2 separate regions of the Homo sapiens genome follow, and region 1 is linked to region 2. Evidence: promoter capture Hi-C in 16 types of primary human blood cells and fetal thymus (Javierre and others, 2016). All regions are on one chromosome and are shown on one strand. The core of a region is centred on a gene start or on the middle of the fragment in contact, and the rest is flanking DNA. Distances in the headings are between cores, read along the strand shown. Region 1 has its middle 32 kb from the start of OLFML3. Region 2 holds the start of SYT6 (synaptotagmin 6).

Region 1 (2,700 bases), core at 179-2,678, 140 kb after region 2:
AAACTGTGCAGAGTACCAGTATTATAAGCTTCCCCCCGCCCCAAAAAGTCCTGCCTTTATTTACTGACAAGAAAACAAATGCTCACAGTATGGTATGATAGTGTCTGACAGAGATGAGGACAAAGGAACGCAGAGGAAAAGTCCCTCACCCAGCCTGGGGGAGAGGGAGGAGGCTGTGTCAGCGAAGGCTGGAAGAAGGATGCTTGAGCTGTGCTGAAGTATGTGTATGGGTCAATCTGGTGAAGAAGGTAGGGATGTATTTTAGGTATAGGAAACAGCAAGTTCAACAGCACTGACACGTAAAGCAGCAAGCAGCTCCGTACAGGCTAGCATGGACTGGCCCACAGCAGAGACCTGGGGAGGCTGAGGCCAGAGATGCAGCCCACTCTGAAAGGCCTTCAAGACCAAGACAGGGACTTCAGAGATTCCCTAATTGCACGGAAGCCAATGTGGTTTTTCCCTGGGAGAACATCACACCCAGATATATGTCTTTAATAGCCACCATGGCCACAATGTGGAGATGGGTTAATGGAGAGAATCTTGGTGTGGGGGAGGCCATTCAGGAGGTTGCATGAACACTGGAGGCCTGAACTAAGGCAGTGGCTGTGGGGATGGAGAGAAGGGACTGAGGCTGTGAGATGGTAAGAAGCAGAGTCCAGGGTTATGTTGACTGGTGTCTGACTGGACATGGAGTAGAGAAGGGGTAAGAGAGGGTCAGAGATAATGTCCAGGTTCCTGATTCAGAAATCAAAGTAGCTGACCATGCCATTCTCCAGAAAATGACATCCAGGAGGAGGGACAGCCTTGGGTAAAGGGTCAGAAGTGCAGAAGGTAGTTGTGCACACAAACACAACTCAGTAGAGGGCTCTGGTCAGAAATATCTATATTTGGCAGCACTGCCATACAAAGCCACAGGAAGAGATGATACATCTGGAAACATTTAGAGGATGAAAAGAGAAGAGGGTCAAGAATGAACCATGCATTTAAGGGACAAGCAAAGGAATTGTAACCTGCAGAAAAAAAAGAAAGAAAAGACCAGAAGAGATGAAATTAAGAATAAGTGAGACCAGTGTGGTGGCTCATACCTGTAATCCCAGGGCTGTGGGAGGCCAAGGCAGAAGGATTGCTTGAGGTCAGGAGTTTGAGACCAGCCTAGGAACCATAACAAGATTCTATCTCTGCAATATGTATGTGTGTGTGTGTGTATATATATATATATATATATTTTTTTTTTTTTTTTTTTTAATTAGCCAGGTGTGGTGGTGCACACCTGCAGTCCCAGCTACTCAGGAGGCTCGCTTGAGCCCAAGGGTTCAAGGCAGCAGTGAGCCAAGATCATACCACTGCACTCCAGTATGAGTGACAGAGTGAGAGTACCCACACCACTGTGGAGTGAGAAACAGAGAAAGGGGAAGCTGTAGGTGCAGAGAACTTTCAGGAGAGCTGTCTGTAAAAGGAAGGAAGACAGAACTAGAGAAATCAAGGAAGAAATTGTTAAAGGATGAGAACAACTTGAGTAGATATGGAGGAAAGGATTTAGGAGAGAGGAAGAGATTGAAGATGTAGAAGAGAAGGGAAATTTGATGGAAGGAAGTCATAGCAAAAGAGAGATATGAGGATGGAGGGAAGTGCATAACTGAAGGAATTCACATGGACTGAAGAAGGGACACCTCCTCCCCTCGGTGCAATGAATTGTCCAGCTTTCTTAGAATAATATTCCATATGTAGCTCTATGCTCCCTATAAAATGAGACTGACATCTGTTAATGAGATTACTGTAAAGCTAATTTCACTTCATTCTTTACCTCATTTCCTCTCTCCCTAACTATCTCCATTAATGACAAGAGCAGTGAGGTGCCCTGAGAAGCAGGAGGCGGTGCCCAGAGCCGGCAAGGGTGGGGAGAGGAAAAAGGAGTCCAGCCTATGGTAGGACGTGAGTGGCTTCAACACCCCTCAGAACCCAATGCCTCCACTGAACCACGAAGCAAGCTGAGAAGCCCCGCCAGCTTATGGGGAAAGTGCTGGCTTCCCTAGAGTCTAAACCTGTTCTAACTTTCCCCTGGTTCCAGCTCTGGATCCACCTCTACATTTTTAACTCACCCTTGCCCCTTTGGTTTGTGGGATTTTTCTTTCATTGCTGACTTCTGATTCTTGGCTCCTTCTCAAGAGTTTTGCCTTGTGTTCAATTCCTTGATATGCCAGCTTTTGACTACCTTCTCTAAAACTCATGTACTTATGCTCCTCCTCATTCAAAAGGGGATTCGAGGGTTGACAAGGGGGTCATAAAGATAAAAAAGGATTATGTCATTGTGCACACATCACAGAGTGTACTTACAGAAACCTAGATGGTGCAGCCTACCACATACCTAGGCTACAAACCTGTACTGCATGTTGCCATACCGAGTGCTGCAGGCAATTGTAACGCTATAGTATTCGGGGATCTAAACATATCTAAATGTAGAAACTGTAAAGTGAAGGTATGGTATAAAAGATAAAAACTGTACACCTGCATAGGGCCCTTACCATGACTGGAGCTTGCAGGACTGGAAGTTGCTCTGGGTCAGTGTGTGAGCAGTGAGAGAATGTGAAGACCTAGGACATTACTGTACCCTACAAGGATTAGAAACACTGTACACTTAGGCTATGCCAAATTTATTTTAAAATTTTCTTTCTTCAATAATAAATTACCCTTAGCTTACTG
Region 2 (2,700 bases), core at 201-2,700:
TGGAAGCTGCGAACCTTCAACAATTGCCTCTCCCTCGTCCCCTAAACTTATGCCCACGCGATGGTAGCACCAACTGGGTCTTCAGCACCGTGGACAGAGCCAGGGGGCGCCTCACGGTGGAAAAGCCGCCTGGCTGGGCCAGGGTCCTCACAGGCCTTGCCTTAGCCCTTGGTGCCCCAGGCACCAGCTGCTAGGGGATCGCAAGTCCAAGGGCCGGTTGGCACAGATGGCGCGCAGTGGAGACCGCCAGGAGCTAAGGCTCCGAATCTCCTCCCTCCGGAACGTGAGTCACTGCCCGAGTCACTTCCAATAAGCGTGTTAATTAAGAGGCAAGACCTTTCTCCCTCGCCAGCCACTCGGGCATACACCAACCCAGCAGCCTCCAGGGGCTGCAGCTAAAGCTTCCTTCCCAGCTCCGGGAGAGCAAATGGACCTGAGTCTGGGGCTTCAGGCGAGCCCCACACAGAAGGGGCCCCACCGCCGACAGGTGTAGATCAAGAGACTCCCGAGATAGGCCCCTGCAGGGCGCTGGTCCCCCGGCCTCCCTGACCATGGCTCACAGACTTCCAGCGCTGAGTGAGGCAGCTCGAAGCCTCTCAGCCGATCTGTTCCTGGGCCTCACTCCACAGTTTCTGAGGGGATCTCTACTTTAAGTCTAGCCTCAATCCTCCCGTTGAGCTTTCTGTCTTTCTTGTTATGCTTAGCAGAAAGATACATGATCTCTGGTGCTGTTTCACCGAAGCAAGGAGGTGGGTCGGCGGAACTGAGCGCCCTGCGCCCTCTTGAAATGACCCCCCATTCCTGTTTGCCAGAAACTTTTCCCTCCCGTTGCCATGGAGAGAGACGGCCGCTGCCTCCCGTCGCCATAGCAACATGCGGGTACCGCGGACCGCAGGATTGCGGAGCTCGGAAAGTCTTGCAGTTCGCATCGCCCGCCTGTCTTGGGGTCTTCTACCTCCGAAGCTGGGACTCGGGGGCCAGTCTAACTGCTCCCGTCAGGAACCTCGGCCAAGGTCCTCCCAGACCCTGCCTGACCGTCGCTCTTTCTGTTACGGGGTTATCTATTTCTCTGTCATTCGTGTGGCATGTGGCAGTTTACCCAGTGTTTTCACAAACACGATCTTTCTATCCCCAGGGAGTCCGTGAAGTACTTAAAATCATTACACCTCCTTTACGGAGAGGAAAATTGAGGCTCAGAGACGCCCAAGGTCACACCAGGCAGTGAATGCGGAGTGGGAACCCGGACTCTTTCCTGGCCTTGCACCCTCCGAGATTCGGGACAGCCCGGCTTCCCGCCTCGAAACCCCCACCCCCCGGACTCAGGCCAGTCCCTGAGTGTAGAGGGGGCGGCCGCGAGGCGCCAGACTCGCCAGCTGCCGCGGGATGCCACGTGAGGGGCGGGGACCCTGCGGGGAAGTGATTAAAAGCAGAGCGGAGCCGCAGGGGGCCGCTGCAGGGAGGGTCTTCTTGGGGCCGTCGTGCCCCGCCCCAGTGCGGCCGGGGCGCGGGTTCGAGCTGCTGCTCGGCAAGCCTGGGTGTCTAGGGCATGAGCGGAGTGTGGGGGGCCGGCGGGCCTCGGTGCCAGGAGGCGCTCGCGGTCCTCGCCTCGCTGTGCCGGGCCCGGCCGCCCCCTCTCGGGCTGGACGTGGAGACTTGTCGGAGCTTCGAGCTGCAGCCCCCAGAGCGGAGTCCCAGCGCGGCAGGCGCAGGTAACGGGAGACCCAGGGCCCCCTCCCTTCCTGGATATCCGTCCTGCGATCTCCCTTCCCCAAAGCCCCGGTCCCAGGAGCCCCAGAACCTAGAGAGAACTCCCCAGCTCGGGATTCTGGATTGGGAGCCAGCCTCGTCCAGCCCTCTGGCCCATCGCTTGCACAGCCAGGAGAGACCCGAAGGGGAGCGGAGGTTGGGGTAGAAGCCCCCGGCCCTCCTGTATTACTACTGCGGAATGCGGGGGACCCCGCAGACAGCCAGGCTCCCAGGACGGGGCACCCTTGGGGCTTCAGTTTCCCTCGCATCTCCAAGCTCGCTCTGCGGGCGATTTGCCAGGAGAGGGGTCCATGGAGAGAGCGGGAGACGAGGGGCGCCCGGCTGAGGAATAGGGCTTGCCTCCTAGCGAGTGTCGAGGTCCCCGGGTCCGTGCGTCGGTCTGTCCGTCCGTTTGTGTGTTCTCGCGGTGAACGCGGGCGGACCCCCAGTCTCTCCGGGAGAAACTTGGGTCTGCGGCTGGCACGAGGTCTTTGTGTCCGGGTGTCTCTCCGGCTGCGAGTGGTTTTCCGCGTCTCCGCTGGGGGGCGGGGGACAGGGGGCGGGGTGGGGGAGGGTATGAGGGTGTTGCGGCGTCCTTCCCCCACCCCCTCTCGCCCCTATAACTCGCTCCCTCCGTCCCTCTCGGACTCGGACTCGGGGCCGGTGCGCGACTGAGCTGGCGCCTCTAGCCGACTTTGCCAAGAGGGCGCCTCCTGCCCGATCCGCGCTGACCCTGCGCGGGACGCAGCCCCAGGCGGCTGCCTAGCCGAGGCGGGAGCCCGAGCTGAGTCGAGCTCGCCGGAGCGGGTGAGTCCCGAGCCCGATCCCCGCCGGGCTGGACCCTGGCGCGCAGCTGCGGCGTCTCCGGGGAGTCGCGGCAGGGGGAATGGCGTGTCGCGCCCTGGCGGCGGGAGCTGCGGGAGGGTCGGCGACGTGGCGGCCGGCCCAGGGTAT

The links. The method cuts DNA at HindIII sites, captures the fragments that hold promoters and counts their contacts. A CHiCAGO score of 5 or more calls a contact.
Region 1: a contact is called between a fragment that was not itself captured here and the fragment with the promoter of SYT6 in region 2, in 2 of 17 cell types (M2 macrophages and M1 macrophages). The highest score is 6.2, in M2 macrophages.

The regions. Positions count from the first base shown.
Region 1 is chr1:114,010,203-114,012,902 of GRCh38, reverse strand. No RefSeq gene overlaps it. Among named protein-coding and RNA genes, the nearest start is that of OLFML3, 32 kb to the right of the region's middle. The HindIII fragment of the contact is 2,795 bases long and covers 31-2,700 here.
Region 2 is chr1:114,152,619-114,155,318 of GRCh38, reverse strand. SYT6 (synaptotagmin 6) reads left to right here and starts at 1,450. Exons shown (of 8, transcript NM_001253772.2): 1 at 1,450-1,709. The coding sequence starts at 1,547. RefSeq lists an enhancer at 1-275. The HindIII fragment of the contact is 4,368 bases long and covers 404-2,700 here.